Regions from separate parts of the Homo sapiens genome. Here regions 1, 2, 4, 5, 6 and 7 are each linked to region 3. Evidence: promoter capture Hi-C in 16 types of primary human blood cells and fetal thymus (Javierre and others, 2016). All regions are on one chromosome and are shown on one strand. The core of a region is centred on a gene start or on the middle of the fragment in contact, and the rest is flanking DNA. Distances in the headings are between cores, read along the strand shown. Region 1 overlaps ARNT2 (aryl hydrocarbon receptor nuclear translocator 2). Region 2 overlaps ARNT2 (aryl hydrocarbon receptor nuclear translocator 2). Region 3 holds the start of CEMIP (cell migration inducing hyaluronidase 1). Region 4 overlaps ARNT2-DT (ARNT2 divergent transcript). Region 5 overlaps ARNT2 (aryl hydrocarbon receptor nuclear translocator 2). Region 6 overlaps ARNT2 (aryl hydrocarbon receptor nuclear translocator 2). Region 7 overlaps ARNT2 (aryl hydrocarbon receptor nuclear translocator 2).

Region 1 (3,240 bases), core at 435-2,934, 360 kb after region 3:
TCTCCCTACCATCTCTACCTGAAACTCTAACTTACATAAGAAGGAGGAGGTCTCACCTCTCTGTCTCCCAGCCACTCTTTTATATTTTTGAACTCTGATTCTGTGCTGAATTCTCTGTAATTTCTTTCATTCTACTTTCTAAGTCATTAATTCTCTATTCATCTGTGTTGAGTAGCTATTTAATTCGTCCATGCTTTACTAATTCTGTTTATTTTTCAATGCTGTAATTTCCTGACACCCACTTGGACTAAAGGACTGCCAGCCAGCTGACTGCCTTCAACTGGACCCTGAAACCTGGTAATGAGTATCTCACTAGGAACCACAATTAAAAGAAGATCAGAGATTAGCTTCTAATTTTCCTGAGCTGCATAAGGCCCAAGGTGTCGTAAATACCCTAGGAAAAAGGTGCACCTTCCTCAAAACAAATGATGAGACTGAATGTTTAAACAGCCAAGCTGGAAGAAATAAGTTGGGTTTAATTTGATGGAGAAAATACAGCAATAAGATGGAGTTTGCACTCAGCTACCATCAGACAATTCATATAACCTATACAATGTCATTCGGTGCATTGTTTCAAAACTAGTGAACTATAGGTTAAAAATGACTTTCTTTGTACCATTAAGTACTTTTTAACATTTATTTTTATTGATTTTAATATTGTGATGACAGCTTTCCTTCCTTCCTTCTTTCTTTCCCTCCCTCCCTCCCTCCCTCCTTTCCTTCCTTTCTTTTCTTTCTATTTCAATAGCTTTAGGGGTACAACTGGTTTTTGGATACATGGATGAATTGTATAGTGAAGGCCGAAATTTTAGTGTACTTGTTGCCCAAGTAGTGTGCATTGTACTCAATATATAGTTTTTTAGCCGTCACTCCCTCCACCCTTCTGAGTCTCCAATGTCCATTATACTACCCTGTATGCCCCTGCACATCCATAGCTTAGCTCTCGCTTCTAAGTGAGAACATAAGGTATTTGGTTTTCCATTCCTGAGTTACTTCACTTAGAATAATGGCCTCCAGCTCCATCCAAGTTGCTCCAAAAGGCATTATTTTGTTATTTTTTATGGCTGAGTAGTATTCCATGGTGTATATATACCAAATTTTCTTTATCCACTCATCAGTTGACAGGTACTTAGGTTGGTTCCCTATCTTTGCAATTGTGAATTGTGCTGTAATAAACATGTGTGCATGTGCTGTTTTGACATAATGACTTCTTTTGCCTTTGGGTAGATACTCAGTAACTGCCAAACCTTTTGCAGTAGTCCCTTGTTATCTTTCACTTTCAGTTACCCAAGGTCCGTGCTTTCAGTTACCCAAGGTCAACCATCCCAGGAGTGATTACGTTCTTACCATCTCATCTCACTAACTCTTCTAAGGCAGGTAGTAAGCCACTTTTATTGGAATGAACATATGTACATATATATTCATTCTAATTCATTCATTCCAATATATATATTCATTCTAATAAAAATATATATTCACATATAATTCTTTTTATATGTCCATAATATATATTCATATGTTCATAATATATATATTCATATGTTCATAATATATATATTCATACAGATGCTCTCCACTTCTGATGGGGTTACATTTCAATAAACCCATCGTAAATTGAAAATATCTTCAGTCAAAAATGCATTTAATACACCTAACCTACCAAACACCCTAGCTTAGCCTACCTTAAACATGCTCAGAACACTTTCAGTATATATCCAATAAATTACATGAGACACTAAACACTTCATTATAAAATAGGCTTTGTGTCACATGATCTGGCCTGGCATCTTGGGAGAGTACTGTACCAAATATCAATAGTCCAGGAAAAGATCAAAATTCAGAATTTGAAGTACAGTTTCTACTGAATGCATATCACTTTGTAACCATCATAAAGTCAAAAATCTTAAGTGAAACCCTTGTAAGCTGGGGACCATCTGTATAGTCAATACATATATTCATATGTTCATAGGGTCTTTTTTTTAAACTAAAAAGAGGGGCTGATAGAAGAGGAGTTAAAAGACAGATCCAGAATGTGGGTTCTGGTGTGAGATGATAAAATGTGGAGAGAGGCTCAAAGACATACGTGGATGGCTGGTTGCATAGGGAGGTGCGGGTGCTGTGACCATTGGCAGCCTATCCTCCCATTGCCCCAGGCTCCCCAACTCAGACGGAGCCCACCACCATCTCCTCCAAGGCTCTTCAGGCTCCACCCCTTATCCTAAGACCCTCTGGTGAGAGCCTTACACTGCGTTCCAAAGCAAACTATGCCCTGCTGTTTAAGGCTGACCTGCTGCCAGGCACAGGAAAACCATTTGTGTTTATCTTCCAAATACCATGGAAATTCCCTAAGAACCGGCATGGTGTCTGTTCAGCTTTTTCTCCCGGGACTTTCCAGGACCCTGCCACATGAGAGGTGCTTTCATGCCAACCATTCACGTTATAGATAAGAAAACCAAAAGCCCAAAGAGAAAAGGTAGGGGTGTCCCAGGGCACCATGCCATGTCAATGCCAGGACTGGGCCACTGATTCCTCTTCCTACCCTCTCACGCTGCTGGATGCCTAGTTAACACCTCTGGTTCATTTCTCTTCAGCACAGTCCACTCATTAATTATCTTCCCTTCTCCCTCCAGATCACCCAGGGAAAGCCAGTGTGACAGTGGAAAGAAGGTACACTTGGGATCAGGCAAATCCGTGTGTTAGGATCAGCCTTTCAAGGCTCAGTTCGACCACCTTTATTTCCTCACCTGTGAAATGGGCGATTGAGCCCAGCCATCCTGAACCAGGTGAGTTAGCTGGCATTGGATAGTACTGGCTTAGTGCAGCCCCTGCCTCAGTGGACCTGAAGGGGATCTGGGCCAGCAGTACCAGCATCACTGGAACTTGTTAGAAATGCCGATCTCACCCCAGCCCACTCCCACCCCTGAACGACTGACTCCAAAACTGAGATGGGGCAGCACTTTGTGTTTTTACAAGCCCTCCTGGTGATCCCTGGGTCAAGTTTGCAAATCACTGAGGTACCTATTTGACCACGCCATCTAGTGGCAGACAGACCTAACAGATCCTGCGTTCTAGAAAATGGTTTGTTTCCAGTGCTGGAATATTCAGCTTGGAGGACTCCGAAAGACGCTCCCCTCAAGAAGCCTCTAAATGCATGAAGGCACAGACTCTGTCATTCTTTCCACCCAGTGTATTCCCAGCACCTAAGCACCGTGAGGAATGAAGGGCAGATATTTAATAAAT
Region 2 (3,096 bases), core at 72-2,571, 320 kb after region 3:
TTGTAAGAAGAGAAAAAGCCAACAGGAGAGGCACTGGGGTGTTCCATGCCAATTGGAAGCAGATTCTCCACTCCTCCCCTGGACAGCAGCCACAGTCACTGCAAAGTGGAGGGATGAGGGTGGACTCAGTCGTCTCTCCCAGTGCTGAGAAGCTCAGATGCAACCATGGGCCCATTCACTGAGGGCCCAGCAGCTAAGCCTAGGTGACCTCTGGGCCTCTGCGGTCCTACAAACTCATTCCTATTAGTAACAGCATATGCTGGAAACACATCCTATCTTCCTTATTTTTCATGGGGGAAATGATATGGTTCACAGATGCCTGGGTTTGAACCTTGACTGTATAAAAACGGACTCACAGACACGGTCATGAGATAGTTACCCAGAGTGTAGAGTTTCTGTTTCTTAATGATCGGGCCTAATACAATGAGCTCTTTGTACCCCTGCACTATTATTTCATCACTGACACTGATCTTTTCAATGTCAAACAAACGTCACTCCTCATCTCTCTTCCTCTTTATGTTTTGAGGCCCCAGGAATCATCATTTCCTAAGGTTAGCATGCTATGGAATGTTATCTCAAGGGGAATTTTGACACGGAGGAACCAAAGTCATTGTTCCTTCATAGAGGGAGGCTGTGTACAGCGAGAGCAAACTGGGGCAGGGAGATATGTGCCCTTGTTTCCATTTCAGCAAGAAAGCACACCCTGCTATTAAAGTGTATCCCAAGAAATGGGTGGATGTCCAAGCTGCCATTCTGTCTGCACCGAGGGAAAACAATACATGCTTTTGTTATTGAAACTCATGTCCTGTTTTGATTCGAAACTCCAAGGTCATTAGTGACCAAAATGTTCTCCATCTCCTCTCTACTGTTTCAACCAAAGCAGAAGCTGAAAGACGGAAGGAAAAGATTTTGGGGACGAAAGTGTATGGCATGATGCGAGTTTACTATGGACTTGGAGACTCTGGGAATCCCTGGGAAGTAAGGAGATGCATGTCCCTGTTGGACTGGTGGAAAAGTGTGTGGAACTCACAATCGCAATGCAGTTTGTAAAAGGAATCATCACCAAAAATGGCTACCATGAGGGGAGAAAACTAGGGTAACTCAGGGGGCCCAGAACTCAATATGCATGTGGTTCCTCCAAAAACAACTGAGGCCATCAGTCCAAACTATGGAGCATGGATACAGAAGAAAAGCAACCGTCACCCATGGCAAGTTTTCAAGTCCATCAATGACCAAGAATTAGGAAGGCTTGGAGGCTTGGCTAGTGGAGAGGAATGTCAAGGCAGGCCCTTCCTTAGGTAAGTGGGTACAGATGTGAATTTTGCTAAGAATGATGGAATGATTTGTGCCTTCCTGTCAACACTGCCAAACTTCCTACCATATCTTAAACAAAATGGAAAAAAAAAAAAGACACAGTCATGGGGTTGGGCCTGCCTTATCCTTCACGTATGCAATGTGTATAACCCATGGACATTCATGATCCAGCAAACTTTCCATGAGGTGGTCTGCACTCAGGACGGCCCCGCAGAGCCCAGATAAAGATGCTGTCACGTGGCCAGGGGGCAATACAGTTCTTAGGAGCTGAAAACCCAGTTTTCTATCCTGCATCCAGAACACAGCTGCCTGGTTTCTCATATCTCTTCTTATTTTCCATGGTAGCAATAAAAGACTTATCTTGACAGTTTTTTCTAAACTTGAACTCTAGGGCTTTTCAGGAAGAATGAATTCCTCTGTTTGCTTTATAAGCAATGAATATTAATTTTAATAGATTCCTTTTTAAAAGACATAGGAATTTTTAAAAATACTTTTTAAAAAGCCCTATTGTCTTTTTAAAATGAATCCTTAAAATTGACATTAATTTCTTATAAAGCAAACAGAGTTAATAACTTATTACTTACCTTTTGATCATCTCTGCTGGGATGTGGCAGGGTCGCTAATAGCTAGCTGCCACTGGGCCAAATACTGCCACAGAGTGAGGGACCAGTCAAACTGCAGGCAATGGCTTTTGCAATGACAAAAGACGTTACATTCTTGTATCTTTCTAAGGTGAATGCTGGCTATTGCCTTCTTTAAGTCTAAGGAAAATAAAATAAACTTACCTTGAAAATTTACTGGGGCCTTCACCATCTTCATCATCGAAGTCCATTCTGAAAAGTCAAGATCACAAGTGAGCACTGATTATTAGGAGAACATTTTAACTGGTAACAGGAGCTGCTGGAACAAAAGGAGCTTTATTCACTAGGACTGCTATCCATTGATCCCAACCTTTGGCAGTGCTACAAGCAATATCTCTACACAGTCATCAAACGGGTTCAAGACAAGAAGAGGCAAAATGAAAGGTCTTCAGTCTAAGCACCACTAATTCTATGGCTGGGAATATTTAAGTATCAACTAGTCCCCTCCAGAACTCTATATGCCATTCCCTTCTTAGAACTCTTAGCAGACAATGGATTGCTCTGGCTATGATGGAAAGGTGTCTCTTCCTTTTCTCTCACCATCTTTGGGAATACCTGCACCCCTCTGCATCACCTATTCCACATTAAGACTTTTTTCTTAGTTTATCTTGTGGTATATTAAGAGCCTAAAAAGGCTCACGGGATTTTGAAAACAGAAGTTTTCAGGGTGAAGGGATCACAAGGGAAAGAGAAATACTACCGGTTGTACTGCTTAAAAATGTGGCTGGTCTTGATGAGTCAAAGTGAAAAGGACATTTAAGACTTTGCCCTATTAAATCCAGGACCACAAACATGGCTGTTGAGGGGAAAATGGCTGTTTGGGGCTCAAGCTACTCAAATCAGCTGTGCTTGTGGAAACTCACCAAGTAGTTATTCAGATTCACCCTTTACTGGGCCTCTCAGTGTAAACATAAGACAAAAAGACTTGATAGATATTTGTTGAACTAATACCTCAAACTCTTCTCAAAAAATCATGTCTCTGTAATGGTAATTCACACAATTCCTAAACATGTTAGGGCAGAGGGGGTACTTAATTGGTGTCAAGTGTACCCAGAGTCCTTGGGGAAACAAAATGAAAAATGATACAGATGTCTGAGCTTTCCTGGACATCCACGTGAGTGGAGCTCCTTGGAGAGAATGT
Region 3 (2,838 bases), core at 161-2,660:
GGCGTCGCGCCTGGGCACGCAGAGCCGCCGGCTCCCCGCCCTCGGGCGCGCCCTGGATCACTTTCCAGACCGCAGGGATGGAGAGACGCGCTCCCCGGCTCACCGTCCCTGGTATGGGGCTGCAGCCAGGCACTGGCTCACACATCAGAAGATTAGTTTTTAAAGGGAGCTCTCACCTGTGGGTAGCGTTGGCTGCTTGGAGAAGGACTCAGGACCTCAAACCCGGCAGCTGGCGGAACTCCTGGGACTGCCGTAGCGTCCGACCCTTGGGGAACAGCGGCTGTCGCAGAGAGTGTCTGCGGCTGAGGACCCAGGGCGCACAGCGCTCCTCTCTCATGAGCACACGCATCCCTTGGGGTCCATTCCAGAATGTCACTGGCCTTCGTTCCCAGAGCGGCGAGCTGGAGACCTGGCCAGCGTTCTGCCAGGACTCTCTGCCTTTCCTCACAACCTAACGCGACCTTTCTTGGAGCCGACGTCCTTTGCCAGGGACCACCAGACCTTCTTCCAGCGATGCCACGTTTGGAGTCTCAGTCTAAACATCAGCAGAGCCCCCCGGGTTCATCTAACATTGCAATTGCCTCAGCTCGGCCCCGCGCCAGCGCGTCGCTGGGTGCCTAGCGCTGTCCCGGAGGCACTGGGAGGCGAGGGAAACTGGGAGGAAGAGCGTGCTGAGGCAGGAGCAGCAGGGCGCAGACCTGTTGCTAGGCGCACGCCCGCTAGAGCTCGGCGTGAGCTGGCTCCCAGTCGGCAGGACACCGAGACCTGACCCTTGTGGTACTCCCTCCTCGGCGAGACACTCTCCCGGGCGCAAGCCCCCGGTGCCATTCAGAAGGGGGAAAATCTACGGAAAGCAGGAGTCTGCCCCCTCTGGATGCCCTCTGGGGACTCCAGCGCCCCCCGGCACCTGCAGCTTGTAAAGCATCACAAGATCTCAGAGAAATCCCACAGAGGACAGTGCCAAGAGCGTGTGCCCATCAACAGACGCATGGACAAACAGACAGATAGAGGTAGACTGCACAGCACAGGGTGGACAGACAAACAGAAACTGAGGCGGGTAACGTTTACCCTGTGCCGGGTGGAGGCGCGGGCCCCCACTTCTTACCTCTCTTCCGTGGCATGGGCCGTCAGCTCATCCCTGACGCCCCCAGCCAGGCCCTCTTACCTCTGGGTCTGTAGCCGAGACAGTGTCACGCCTCGCGGGCCAGGAGCGCAGCGGCCCCGGACGTCTGGTCGCTGACCGCCAGGCGCCGCGAGCTCCCGGGGCGTGGGCAAGCGGAGTGGTAGCTAGTCTGGGAAATCTGGGTTCAGACCCTGGCCGCGCTCAGCCCCGCTGGCTCCCCGCGCCGCTTGCGCTCGCCAGGCTCTGTCCGATAGCACCGCGCTGGGCTCTGCTTGAGCGCTAGCTCCCCGGCCCTCAGCCGAGAGGCCGCTTTTATAGCCACTTTTACTGACTCCTCCCCCGAGGAGCCCCTGACGCCCGCGCGGCACCGAAGCTCCCTCCCTCGCCCCCCGATGAAACTTCCCTCCACGCGCCCCCGCCTTGCCCAAGTGGGGCGGGGGCCCTGTGCCCGGGCCGGACCGGGGCGGGCTCTGGCGGCGGCTCTGGGAGACGCAGACCTGAGCCCGCGGAGCCCGGGTGCGCAGAGTCCCGCCCGCAGCAGCCAGGTGAGGGCGCTGGAGGCCAGGACTCGGTGGAGCGGCCGCGGCGGACCGCGGAGAGCAAGTCCCCGGGCCTCCAAGGAGCCAGGGTCGCCCGTGCCCCGCTCGCGCCCCGGGGCGCCCTCCGAGGCAAAGAGGCAGTGGAGGACAGGAGAAAAGGTCTGCGCCTGCCACAGAATCGCCGCGAGTCGGGGTCCCAGGCTAAGTCTCAGGATCTCTTTTTAACTCAGCAGCAAAAGAGTAGCCCGAGAAAGAGATTTTGGTATTGGCCTAGCAGTTAATCCGAGAGGAAGATGCTTGGGTGTTCACTGAAAGGCACCTTGGTTTGAAACTGGATTCAGACATGCCAGTTACAACTGTGTACAGGATCTTAACCCCTCCCAGTCTCAGTTTCCTCATCAGGAAAATGGGTTCTGTGATGCTTCCTCACTAGAATGGTGAGGCTTAAATGAGATCAGGAAAGTCCAAGTTCTAAGCACATAATAGGTGCTTGGTAAGTTAGAAACATTCCCTGTGGGTAGGAGGGCTCTGTGCCTCTTTAACTGGACAGGCCAAAGTTCTGAAGGGTCAAAGCAAGAAGGTGCGGCTGGTCTAGACATTCCCTCGCGGGAGGAAACAGTACCAGTAGGAAAAGTTCATCACAACACATCCCTAGGGCATATGGAGTCTCCTCTCAACTCTGCCGCTAACCTACTGTGTGACCAGGGCCAGCTACTTCCCCTGTCTGAGCCTCAGGGTGGTTTTTTTGCAGGGAGGTGAGGAGTGTTTGTTTTTCTTGTTTTGTTTTAATCTGTAAAATGAGGGCGTTGATACCTGCTCTCTGCCTCTTCCACCTTTCAGAGTGTGACTCAGCCCCCTTTCCTGGTTAGCAGAGGCCTCCTAGAATATACATTTCTTTCTTCCTTCCTGCCAGTGTTCTCTGAGAACCAGCTCCTCAGGCAAGGTCTCCATTCTGTGTAGTACACACTAGCTCCGGGACTCTAGGTCTGGACTTTAAGGCCAGGCTGTGGTCGGCAGAAGCTGTGGAAGTCTGTGATCACATCTGGGCTGAAGCAGAAGCCTTTGTCACCTGGTTAAACTGGGAAGTCCTGCAATCCACCTCTAGGCCTCTTCCAGAAAGCGGAACTTGATCCTTACTGGGGGTGGTGGTCAGGATTCTCAGCCCTTCTTTGATTT
Region 4 (2,808 bases), core at 117-2,616, 380 kb after region 3:
CCTTAGAAGGAAGCAAGTTCCTCTCCTTGGTGTTTATGTATCAGTTTAGCATTTCAGCCAGGACCCATGGCTCATTTTGTCTCCAAATACAGTTCTAATATCATCCCTAAAAAATAAAATATGAGTGAACATGACTCTTACGCACACACACATTTAACCATACAAATTTGTTGACAAGTTTTACTTTCTTACTCTGCTGTTGTGTTCTGCCCATTTTTCTAAATGTTACTCGGCTGATATCTTTAAAACTGGATCTTGCTCAAGCTTCCTACTTCTTGCACTGGTCCATTGCAATAAAAGACAGGCGACACGTGGACAACTGCTAGACACTTCCCAAGTCTGGAGTCGGCCGTGCTGTGGTTTTTGGTACGTAATAAATACGTTTAGATTTTCACAAAGGAGACATTTCATCTTCTCCCCCAGTCAGTGTATTTCAGAGGTAGAAAGGACCTTCGACATCATCCAATTCTGCCCCTGGAGTTTGCAGATAAGGAAACTGAGGCTCAGGGTAGCCAACGTCATGCAGCTTAATAGCCAGACAAGACTTAGAACTGGGCTACGCACAATACTGGGATTTGGTGGCTGGAGTTGGGGAGCGGTTAGGGTGTAGGGGAAGAAATAGAGAAATGGGCAACTCGCCTTCTCTCTCGTCTCTCAGTATTAAATAGGTTAAATGCTCAGAAACACTGATTGTGGATGAAAGCCCCCCACTTAAGTAAACAATCTGAAATGGAGTGGTTAGTCATTGTTGAATACTGAGTGGCATTTACACAACACAGTGGTCTTGCGCTAATTATGAGAGTCAGTAGACTGTGACCAGTTAACACAGGCTCAGGAATTCCACTCAACCTTTAAACAACCCAGAACTCTTTGAAATTCCAGAGGAGGCTGTTGAATTTGAAGCTGAGATTTGCATTTTTGAAAAGATTAATGCAGATCCACCGGGCCCATAGCACACGATTCTGAGCACAGCGCTCCTAGAAATGACCAGAGTTGACCAGCTGCTGTGCTAATGTGTACCAGGGTCCACAGCCTTTCTTTCTTTCTTCTTTTTTTTTTTTTTTAACTTGATGGGAGAAAGCAGCCACCTGAGTTCTGCTTCATATCCCTTTAAGTCCTAATACTCGAGACAAAGGATTTCCATTGTATAATATATAATGATCCAAGGCAATTTTATCTTTTTTTTTTTTTTGAGACGGAGTTTCACTCTTGTTGCCCAGGCTGGAGTGCAATGGTGCAATCCTGGCTCCCCACAACCTCTGCCTCCCAGGTTCAAGCAATTCTCCTTCCTCAGCCTCCTGAGTAGCTGGATTACAGACATGCACCACCATATCCAGCTAATTTTGTATTTTTAGTAGAGACGGGGTTTCTCCATGTTGGTCAGGCTGGTCTCAAACTCCTGACCTCAGGTGATCCATCTGCCTTGGCCTCCCAAAGTGCTGGGATTACAGGCGTGAGCCACTGCACCCGGTTTTTTGTTTATTTGTTTTTGTTTTTTGTTTTGTTTTTTTTTTTTTAGATGGAGTCTCGCTTTGTCACCAGGCTAGAGTGCAATGGAGTGATCTCAGCTCACTGCAACCTCCAACTCCCTGGTTCAACCAATTCTCCTGCCTCAGCCTCCCAAGTAGCTGGGATTACAGGTGCACCCCCCACCAAACACTCCCAGCTAATTTTTGTATTTTTAGTAGAGATGGGATTTCACCATGTTGGCCAGGATGGTCTTGATCTTCTGACCTCGTGATCCGCCCACCTCGGCCTCCCAAAATGCTGGGATTACAGGCGTGAGCCACCATGCCTGGCTAATTTTATGTTCTTTTAACTTCACTTTAAGATATGAAGAAACCAGGAATGAACGCATGGGCTTCTGCAGAAGGAGAGGCATGGTAGGGCTGCCATGGATATAACCACAGGCTTTCTCTCCATTTATATGTCTCCTCTCAACCCTTCCTTCCTCCTCCATTCTTTCTAACTTCTCTCTCTCTCTTTGCTGGAGATAAAGGCTCATGGGTCTGTGTTATCCCCACTGCTACCTCCTTATCTTTATTTCTACACAGGTGACAACTGCCCACGGATTGTCTGTCCAGGCACTACCCCCAGCCCCCACCCCTGCCTTCTTCTCTATCAAGTCTCTCCTTTACACCAAGAATCATGGACTTATAACAGATCAAATGTGGATGAGATGTTAGTTTTATACAAAAAGGCATAAGCACCAGCCTTTGAAGCGAAAGTGTGGTGTAGGTTTTTGCTCTGTCACTTCATGAAACTTCTCTAAGTCTCACTTTCCTCACCTGGAAAATGGGGATGATGTTACCTACTGTGCTGAGTTTTGGTGAAGATGACATTGAAGGAAGTAATGTGTGTGCTGTATACACTTTAGAGACTTTAAAATGTATTGTGATAGTATTGCAGAGGGAAGAAGAAAAGTATGGCAAGTCTCTGTCCCACAGAGATAGGAAGGGGAAGCTTGTCGTGCTTTACCTTCATGGAGAGTGGAGAGAAGGAAGGAAGGAGGGTGGGAGGGGAAACAGGCAGTCAGACCCAGGTGCTCTAGTTTCCGTGGAAGGTATATCAAGGCAGCTGATGGAATAGCCAAAAGCAGAGGGGTTTCTGGCCACCACCCATGTGGGAGTCTTGGGGAAGATAACACACAGGGTGGTTCTGCAGGGATCGAAGGATGTAGCTGCAAAGCTGGGCTTTATATGGCACTCCTGGCTCCTCGTGGCTCTGTGAAGTATGCTAGGTGTCCCACAGGTGAGGAGACATGAAGGCATTGAGGGTCTAAATTAACAGATATCTGGGTGAGGACTA
Region 5 (2,890 bases), core at 331-2,830, 280 kb after region 3:
ACTGACTCCATCCAACAGAAATTACAAAGTGCAAGCTGCAGTACTAAGCAAAGTGGCTCACAGAGTAGGGGAAGCAAGACACCATTCCTACTTAACGATGAAACCAACTCAGCTGGTACTCGAGGAGATGTCTGCACAAAATGCAAAGGCAGCACAGAGCAGACAGAGAGAGTGCTTCATGTTGGAGAGAGCAGACTGGGTCAGGGAAAGCTTCCTCCCAGAGGAGGTGCTAAAGGAGCCTCAGAGAGATGGAGCTGCAAGGGATAGGATGCCCCAAGTAAAGGGCTCAGAGCAAGGTGTGGGGAAAGTGGAAGGAGGGGTCTGAGAATAGTACAAAGTCCTGTTTGGCTGGAGCTCCACAGGGAGAGGGGCTGGAGAGGTGGGCTGGGGCCCAACCCCAGGGCACAGAGCCCTAGGAAGGCATGAGCAAAAGCAAACAGAGGAGTCAAGCTCTCAAAATGATTCTGCTATCTGTCACACAGGCAGAAAAGCCAGAGACTTGAGAAACATGCTTCTGACAAACCCTCCAGCCCTTCATGCTGTTGGCAATGAATATTGAGCATGCTTTGCAAAGGCCACATTCCCTTCTAAAAGCAAAACTTCTACCTCCCGGAACTGCCTAGGAAAATTCATATGATTTGCAGTTTAAATATACGAATATCAATAATTTAGATTTTAGGAGCAAAAAACCTGTAAGATTAGCATTCATATCCAACATTCAGGAAAAGAGAGACACCTCAACTTGGAACCTGAGTGTCCAGCCATGTCGGGAGAGCTCCTGTGTACACAAAGAGTGTACTGGGAAGAATGAAGAGTTGGCAGCAACAATAATGTTCACTGAGCAGAATGGGCTCCTGCTGACCCACAGAGGGAAACTGTTTTCAGATAGTAAGAATAGGCTTTTGGGAACCATCCCCCTCTGGGCCCTCTTGCGTTCCTGAGCAAGGAAGATGGCGGCTGGGGTTTGGGTTAGAACTCAGATTAGAATCAGTGGCCATGGAATAAGGAGACAAAAAAAAGGCTTACAGGGGTGGGGGTGCCTGATTAGGTCTGGCAAAAGGGACTTAGCATTGCGACTAATAGGCCCTGCAGACACTCAGAAGAGCCTTTCCGCCAAGCAGTCTGTTTGCATGTCAATCCCTTTGTCCCTCTACTGTACCATCTGGGGAAGGTGCTAATGAGACTAACTAGGCAAGGAGCAGGCAGCAGGATGGCACAAGGAGGGCAGCAAAACTCTGCAGAGAATATCCAAGAGATCATCATCTCATGAGCAATGAAAAGACCAAGACTGGCACATTTGGGGTCAGTCCATACCAACGGGCAGAGAACTCCAACATGAATGGCAGGCCATACCACCTCTCCCACCTCGACAACTGGGCTCTCGTGGCTCTCTGAAAAGCCTGAGAACTTCACAGCTTTTTCTGCATTCACATTCTCAACATGATGTGGGATCATGGGCCACCGCCTGCTGTGGCCTGCTGCTCTGCTATTCATTATAAAATCATCACCCCACAGTCCTCCCATGGCCGGCACCTCTTCTGCTATTTAATCTGTAGACAAAAGTACAAATTCTTCATCCTGTTTAGAATATGCTGAAGTGTGATTTAAAGAAATACATTCCTCTTGGGGTATCATGCTACAAAAATGCCAGAAATGCAAGCCTGAGGGGTTTAATTTTAACGGTAAATGATTAACCCTCCTTGGCTGTGGAAAGGCAGCCCAGTATATGCCAGGAGACCAGGCTGACATGGAGTTCAAGAAGGCAATTTCAAGTCGTGCCTTCCCTCCTTCGCAGTTTGCTAATGAAATGATTTTAAAAATACAAAAATAGCAGGAAAAATCTGCATTCATGAAGAAAAACAGTAAAAGGGGCCTTAAAATAGAGAGATATTGAAATATTTCTGCAAAAAACAGCACAGCACACCTGGGATGGTCTGGAAATGAGTATGAGCAGCTCATGTGTCTTAGTTCATTTTGTGTTGCTATAAAGGAACACCCGAGGCTGAGTAATTTGCAAAGAAAAGAAGTTTATTGGGTTCATGGTTCTGCAAGCTGTATAAGAAGCATGGTGCCAGCATCTGCTTCTGGTGAGGACTCCAGGAAGCATCATGGCAGAAGCAAAGAGGGAGCAGGAGTGTCACATGGCAAGAAAAGGAGCAAGACAGAGAGAGAAGGAGGGGTGCCATGCTCTTTTAAACAAACAGCTCTCAGGTGAACCAAAAGAGTGAGAACTTACTCATTTCCACAGGGAGGGCACCAGGCCATTAGTGAGGGATCTGCCCTCATGATCCGAATATCTCCCACCAGGCCCCATCTCCAACATTAGGGATCAAATTTCAACATGAGATTTGGAGGGGACAACCATTCCAACTATATCATCATGGTTCAACCAATATGAGGAAACAAACTGCCTGGGAAGAAAGTGAAAGAGTTCCCTACTAGAAGTTTCCAAACTCCAAGCAGGAGAGAGAGAACAGGAAATCAGGAAGCAGAAGACAAGTGACCTAGGGTATAATCACAGTGAGGCCAGAGGCAGAGCCCCCTCATATCACCCTGACTTAAAGCAAACAACCTGCCACATAAAGAGGAAGAAAAGCTGCCACAGCCTGCTTCTGAGAGGCAGCATTTCATGTAAAGGAGTGGGCATGGCCCTACTAACTTCAGGTAATGGTGACCAAGGTACAGGGCTGCCTCGGCTGCAGCTCCCAGATAGCTGTACACAATTCAGGAAAAATCAGAACAAATCCCCCACCCCCACCCCCCGCCACTTGCTGTGGTTTGAATGTGTCCTCCAAAGCTCATGTATTGGAAACTTAATCCCCAATGCAAGAGTGTTGTGAGGTAAGACCTTTAAGAGGTGATCAAGTCATAAGGCCTCAGGAGGGCAGAG
Region 6 (3,228 bases), core at 322-2,821, 300 kb after region 3:
AATTCCAGTTTTATTCGCAGACAAGTCAGATCATGACAAGTCACATCACTCCATGATGTTTCTAAGGAGACTGTATATAACCTTTCACCCACTCTTTGTCACCACCTCTCCAGCTAGGAAAAAATTTAATTCAACAAAGAACTCCACCATCACCCTCACCCCAGATGCTGAAACTCTTTGACAGCATATTGATTTTCTGGGGTCCCTGAGCCAACATGGGAGTCTGCAGGCCCCAGTGAAGTCAGGTTTCTTGTCCCCTCCCCTGTGCACATGCAAACCTCCACACATTCAGTACAGGTGACCCTGCAGGTCCAACGAATGAGACATTGAATCACCACTGAGAGAGGCTCAGAGGAGGGAAACTCCACTGGGAAAGGAGGTCAGGCTGCCCTAGTTAAGCCACCTCCACTCCAGCAGGCCTTGCCTGGCTCCCTGCCTCGCCTCAACACCCTTCCACCCTGACTCTCCCAAAGTGGACCATGTCACCTCTTTCCAGGCCTAAAACCACATGAGTCAAGGGACAGGAGGGTTTGAGAGACTCTAGTCCAATAATTGAAGGCATTAAACCACACCTGAGGCCTTTTAATACAATTTTAAAATTATGCTTGGGCTGGTTACATATGAAACCCACTCCAGTCCTGTCCTGAGCACCAGGAAAACCCTAAGGCCTGTCTGAGTAGCAGCCCAGTTTCAGAGAGCTCTTCCAAGCTCTCCCCCACGGAATCAATAAGAGCTTGTTGCATGTTCTAGGAAAGTCGCATCACACCCTATGACTGCAAAAGAGACCCTGTCCTCTCTTCCACCCTAAGAATAAGAACCCACTTCTCCAGCCTCATCTTGTTCCTGACAAGACGGGCTTGGCCCATAGGCAAACTCAGAGACCTGGCTCTTCACCTTTCACAGGGCCTTCTCTGGCATCTTGGAGGACACCCTCCACTGTACTGGTTCTGGCTGCCTTGGCCACAGTCCAGTGTCCACTCCGAGGACATTTCTGTCCAAATGTGGTTCACATCGCCTGTTTAAACTCTCCCAGACACATTCAGACTTCACATGGACAGAAATGTCCACCCAACTATGATGAACCAGCTGGCTACACCCTTGGCCAGAGCCTGACCTGCCTTGACCATCGCTTCCCTGGCAGCTTCCCCAGCTGGGTCTCCAGACTGGGTTTCCAAAAGCCACATCCTGTGGTCACATATAGAAGTCTGGGAAAGACAGCACTTTCCAGAGAAGGTGATTTCAGCTGTCAAACCAACATTTCCTGGTTGGTTGGTTTTCCCCTTTTACATTCCTCCCAAATATTTAACTTTATAAGGTGTGTCCCTTAGGATTTCTATATGGAGTTTGCTAATTCAGGCAGGAGAATGGGGTAGCAGAAAGAGTCTTTCTGAGCCTATTTCAGCATCGCTGTTTTACAAGAACATCAAAGCTTACTGCCAGGAGAAAAAGACACTGTCTTTACACCTTAATTCTCTATCCTCTTCCTCCTTTTTTACATCTTTGATCACCAGCACTGAGAAAATTACTAATATCCTTCCAAAACAGCTGTACACTTCTCACTTTTAGCAACATCAAACTCACTCTTATCATAAGTGTTATTATAGGTGGAATTGTGTTCCCCGCTAAAATTAGTATGTTAAAGTCTTAATCCCCAGTACCCCAGAATGTGACTGTATTTGGGAGACAGGACTTTTAAAGAGATTGTTAAGCTTAAATGAGATCATATGGGTGAGCCCTAATTTAGTGACTGGTGTCCTCATAAGAAGAGGCAGAGACACAAAAGATTCGTGCACACAGAGGAGAGACCTACACTTAGGCTGGTTATAATTCTTGTGAGAATGCAAGAAGGTGGCCATCTCCAAATCAAGGAGAAGGGCCTTAGGGGACAACAAACCTGATGATATACTGATCTTGAATGCAATGGACTAAATGCTTACGCTCTCCCCAAATTCGTACGCTGAAATTCTAATCTCCCAGATGATGATATTAGGACATGGGGCCTTTAGGAGGTGATTAGGTACTGTTATAAAACAGATCCCAGATAGATAGCTAGTCCCTTCCACCATGTGAGGACACAGCTAGAAGGCAACATCTAGAAAGTAGGCCCTTGCCAGACATCAAGGTGCCTTGATCTTGGACTTCCCAGCCTCTAGAACTCTGACTGTATTAGTCTGTTCTCCCATTGTATAAACAAATACCTGAGACTGGGTAATTCACAAAGAAAAGAGGTTTAATTGGCTCACCATTCTGCAGGCTGTACAAAAAGCATGATGCTGATATCTGCTTGGCCTCTGAGGAGGCCTCAGGAAACTTACAATCATGGCGGAAGGTGAAGGGAAGCAGGTGTCTTACATGGCAGAAGCAGGAACTCTTAAGAGAGAGAGTGGGAAGGTACTACACACAACCAGATCTTGTGAGAACTCACTCACTATCACGAGAGCAGGACCAAGAGGATGGTACTAAACCATTCAGGCGAACCCACCCCCATGATCCAATCACCTCCCATCAGGGCCTGCCCCCAACATTGGGAATTACAATTGAACATGACATTTGGGTGAGGACACAGATCTAAACCATATCAGTGAGAAATGAATTTCTGTTACATAAAAGCTATTCGGTTTATTGTATTTTGTTATAGCAGCCCAAATGGATTAGGACACTGAATGCCCAGCCTCCAGAACTATGAGAAAATACATTTCTGTTATTTAAGTAACCCATTCTGTGGTATTTTGTTATGGCATCCTAGGCTGACCACAATAAACAACACACTCACTAATTCATCAGGCTTCTGCTGAAGGCCTACTATGGGCAAAGCACTGAGTTTAGCACTGTGGGCAGACACAAAAGCAAGTGGGAATACAACAGCTCACAATATGGTCAGGGAGAATGACAACACAAATATATCTGTCATAGAGCAGAATGCAAATATTTTGGTATAATGCTTCTATAACTCTTGTTTCAACAATGCAAATTTGTTCCAATGTGATTGACATATTAAGGAACAATCTGAGCATAATGTGAATGTTGTGTTTGCTTATCTGTAAGAAAAACTAGATGAACATAGAAAGGTTGTGCCTAGCTGAACCGGGCCACACGGAAATACACAAAATTCACATACCTCAGACATCAGTCAGCTCTCTCGGCCCACGGTGTGTTATTAGCCACACTCATCCACATTTGGAGTTAAAACTCTCCGTCTGATTTCACATGACTGTCCTCCTACCATTT
Region 7 (2,906 bases), core at 69-2,568, 340 kb after region 3:
GGTTTGGAGCTCATTTAAAAATCAGTACAAGCTAAAGATTTTGTAAGGTTCACCGTAACACAGAAAACATATCTGGCTTATAATGCAGCATCTAGCTACAGACTATTTCACATTTCAGATGCAGACGTACTGTGTAGAATTCCTATAATACAGTGTAGGCAGCGAAAACCTGGAAAAAACGTGGAACTTGAGAGCATTACAGATGAAAGGAACAGGAGGAAATGGAAAAAAAGACATCTTGCTCTCCCTACATTTCATGTGAATCCAAGTAAGAAAAATATCCCCTGATCTTTACATTGGGAAAAAATCAATTACATGCAAACTTTCACAACATGACAACACACAATATTTTAATGGCCATTCAAATAAATGAAAAACCAAAAGGCTCTTTCCATGGCTGGGAGGGGGGTGAGGGCAGGCAACTAACCAAAGAAAAACGCTCTTCTCAATATTCATCTCTCTTAGAACAATTCTCTTCACAGAAAGCACATCAAATATCACAGCCCTACCTTTTCAGAGGGATTAAACAAAGATCTTTCTTCCTTGTGACCAACACCTTCTTAGGAGAATCTGTTATCCGTGTAGAAGAAATGTCAGAAACCTCTGGGAGGAAATGTAGCTGCATTTGTATTCTGCTGAGAAAATGTCATCACAGATCTGTTTACCTTAACTGTGGACCATGATTCAGCCGTGACAACTGTCTTGCATACTGATCAATTTATTTGCAGCAAAATTTCTAGCATTAACTGCTTAGGTTCTGAAAAATCGGTTACTTGGATTTCCTATGAAACCATAACAAATGCATATTTGAAAAATCTAGATTCTTATCCAAACATTTTAGTGAGAGATAATAAAGGATTTTTCTTGAAGTCCAAGCAAGGGAGGGTCCCTCTTACTTCTGGAATGAAGACAGGGCACATGATTCCCAAAGGGCCTCCATGGGGTAGCATTTTTATAGCACAATGTACAGAAAATCATTAGACTGAGAATCAGAGAACTCTGACTGCAGATCCATGCTCGGCTTTAACCAGCCGTGAGATCCTCTGTAAGACATTCTTTTCTGATCAGCAGGCTGGGCCAAGGTCTCTGCAATAGAGAAGAGGATGGCCACTGGACCTGGGAAAGCAAGAAGAGGCCAGGTCCTGTCTCCTCTGGCTGGTGCTTCCAGCCTGGATACCGAGCCCTGGATGCCTGCCTGAGCCCCTTCTAGTAGGCAGGCAGGTTTTGGCATTAGGGAATTGAAACCAGTCCCAAGGCAGCCCGGGGAGATGCCCTCCCACCTCAGCTAACAGTGCTGGCTCAGGTAGAGCTCTGGCTCTCCTCTGGAACAGGGGCACTGCACTACAGCACACTATGGTGTCACTCCCCATGTTCCCACTAGTGTCCGAACCCACTAACTCCAGCTTCCTTCTCCACCCTGTGGGCTGAAGTCCTGTAATCTCTGTGCTGAAATTTGTAAAAGGAGTAAAAATAAAACAGACCCAGCAAGAAGATGGGTAACCAGTAATTCCAATGGAAGAAAAGTGGAGAGGCTGCTGTCAAGGATATGATTCTGGAGCAAGACAACAAGGATGAGTGACCCATTCAACCTGCCCCACTCTGTGCGAGATGACCCCACAGGTCTAACTGCAATGAGACATCCACCCATGACTTGTCTCATGCTTGAGTCAAACCTAGAAGCCGCAGACCATCAGAAGAAAGTGTGTGTCATCAATCACACAGAAGCCAGCCCAGAACATCTAGGTTGGAAGGATTGGTGTCCGTCAGTGAACTGAATGTCCCTAATGAGGTCTTAGAAGGAGTCTCAGCCAAAACCTAGACTCTGGCCTACCAAGACCTGAGTCTAGGGAATCAGGAGCCCTGTGCAGTAAGACAGACCCTGAAGGAGAAAGTGCAAGGCATGGGTTGCTGGTGGAAGAGTACACAGGAGGGTTCAAAGCTCTGATTCTCCACATTCAAAAATACGAGAAAGAACCATGGGATGGTGAAGGGTTCACTGAGGAGGACCTGCTAGTGAGACACAACTTGTTGGCCTGGAGAGTCCTTGAGGCAGAAGGAGGGATAAAACTGTCTTCAGATACCTGAGGGACCTTCCTGTATAAAAGGGAAGAGGCCAGTTCTCAATGACTGCAGAGACCTCTTCACAGTGGCTGAGGATATGAAAGGTAGGGGAAAGAAATGAATGACCAAGATGCATGTTGACTGTCCAAAGGCAGTTGGAAGTTGAACAGAAACCAAATGAACTAACAAGTCTGACATAAAGAGAAAAGCTCATAACTTATGGAATACTCCCAGATAAAAATTACTTAACCTTTAAATATCATGATTTCAAAGATAATGTTATAGGAAAATGCTAAGAGTAAGTTAATGGAGCAGGATACAGAATCATATATGCAAACATATTTATCAGGGACCCATCAAAGTTCAGCTTCAGCTACACTATTTGCCCAAAACCTATTATTTGGCCATGGCTTCTAAATGAATGCCTTGGCCTTTGAAAGGACAAACAGTCAAATACCTATTGCAAGATCATTTCTGGCATCCCTGAACTTGTGCATGATCAATGGCCTTACGATACTCAGGTCACCACCATCTCTACGTCTACAGCATAACAACATCAATACTACAAATAAGCCATGCCACATGAACTTATTGCTCAAGTCCGCATGTTCACTTTCAAATGTAAATCTGCATTCTAGATGTACTCAGATTAAAAAGCTCCTTGTATGTATGATGTATTTTGAACTCTCCCAGTCAGATGGTGTATAAATATAAATATTATTGCAAGAATGAAATGTGCAGTAATCTTTGACCATATGGTAAAAGCTATTAATTTTATATGCAAAATTTGTGTGCAAATCAATTATCAAGAACTTTAACAAATAGTTACATTTAATAGGAAGTGA

Evidence for each region. The method cuts DNA at HindIII sites, captures the fragments that hold promoters and counts their contacts. A CHiCAGO score of 5 or more calls a contact.
Region 1: a contact is called between a fragment that was not itself captured here and the fragment with the promoter of CEMIP in region 3, in 3 of 17 cell types (M0 macrophages, M1 macrophages and M2 macrophages). The highest score is 6.8, in M0 macrophages.
Region 2: a contact is called between a fragment that was not itself captured here and the fragment with the promoter of CEMIP in region 3, in 16 of 17 cell types (M0 macrophages, total CD8 T cells, M1 macrophages and 13 more). The highest score is 21.1, in M0 macrophages.
Region 4: a fragment that was not itself captured here is called in contact with the fragment with the promoter of CEMIP in region 3 in 1 of 17 cell types (M2 macrophages); the score reaches 5.0 in M2 macrophages.
Region 5: a fragment that was not itself captured here is called in contact with the fragment with the promoter of CEMIP in region 3 in 2 of 17 cell types (M1 macrophages and endothelial precursors); the score reaches 6.1 in M1 macrophages.
Region 6: a fragment that was not itself captured here is called in contact with the fragment with the promoter of CEMIP in region 3 in 5 of 17 cell types (M1 macrophages, megakaryocytes, M0 macrophages and 2 more); the score reaches 10.5 in M1 macrophages.
Region 7: a contact is called between a fragment that was not itself captured here and the fragment with the promoter of CEMIP in region 3, in 5 of 17 cell types (M1 macrophages, M0 macrophages, monocytes and 2 more). The highest score is 9.8, in M1 macrophages.

Annotation. Positions count from the first base shown.
Region 1 is chr15:80,418,895-80,422,134 of GRCh38, reverse strand. All of the region lies in intron 1 of ARNT2 (aryl hydrocarbon receptor nuclear translocator 2), which reads right to left. Among named protein-coding and RNA genes, the nearest start is that of ARNT2, 16 kb to the right of the region's middle. The HindIII fragment of the contact is 6,550 bases long and covers 1-3,240 here.
Region 2 is chr15:80,456,980-80,460,075 of GRCh38, reverse strand. ARNT2 (aryl hydrocarbon receptor nuclear translocator 2) reads right to left here. Exons shown (of 19, transcript NM_014862.4): 3 at 2,100-2,147. Among named protein-coding and RNA genes, the nearest start is that of ARNT2, 54 kb to the right of the region's middle. The HindIII fragment of the contact is 8,174 bases long and covers 1-3,096 here.
Region 3 is chr15:80,777,942-80,780,779 of GRCh38, reverse strand. CEMIP (cell migration inducing hyaluronidase 1) reads right to left here and starts at 1,410. Exons shown (of 30, transcript NM_001293298.2): 1 at 1,166-1,410. RefSeq lists an enhancer at 383-888 and a silencer at 1,509-1,788. The HindIII fragment of the contact is 7,653 bases long and covers 1-2,838 here.
Region 4 is chr15:80,399,689-80,402,496 of GRCh38, reverse strand. All of the region lies in intron 2 of ARNT2-DT (ARNT2 divergent transcript), which reads left to right. Among named protein-coding and RNA genes, the nearest start is that of ARNT2-DT, 3.1 kb to the left of the region's middle. The HindIII fragment of the contact is 2,199 bases long and covers 267-2,465 here.
Region 5 is chr15:80,493,225-80,496,114 of GRCh38, reverse strand. The region is part of intron 5 of ARNT2 (aryl hydrocarbon receptor nuclear translocator 2); the gene reads right to left. LOC124903537 (a long non-coding RNA gene) reads right to left here. Exons shown (of 2, transcript XR_007064731.1): 2 at 2,008-2,890. Among named protein-coding and RNA genes, the nearest start is that of ARNT2-AS3, 68 kb to the left of the region's middle. The HindIII fragment of the contact is 2,736 bases long and covers 213-2,890 here.
Region 6 is chr15:80,476,193-80,479,420 of GRCh38, reverse strand. All of the region lies in intron 5 of ARNT2 (aryl hydrocarbon receptor nuclear translocator 2), which reads right to left. Among named protein-coding and RNA genes, the nearest start is that of ARNT2, 73 kb to the right of the region's middle. The HindIII fragment of the contact is 280 bases long and covers 1,432-1,711 here.
Region 7 is chr15:80,438,982-80,441,887 of GRCh38, reverse strand. All of the region lies in intron 1 of ARNT2 (aryl hydrocarbon receptor nuclear translocator 2), which reads right to left. Among named protein-coding and RNA genes, the nearest start is that of ARNT2, 36 kb to the right of the region's middle. The HindIII fragment of the contact is 7,419 bases long and covers 1-2,906 here.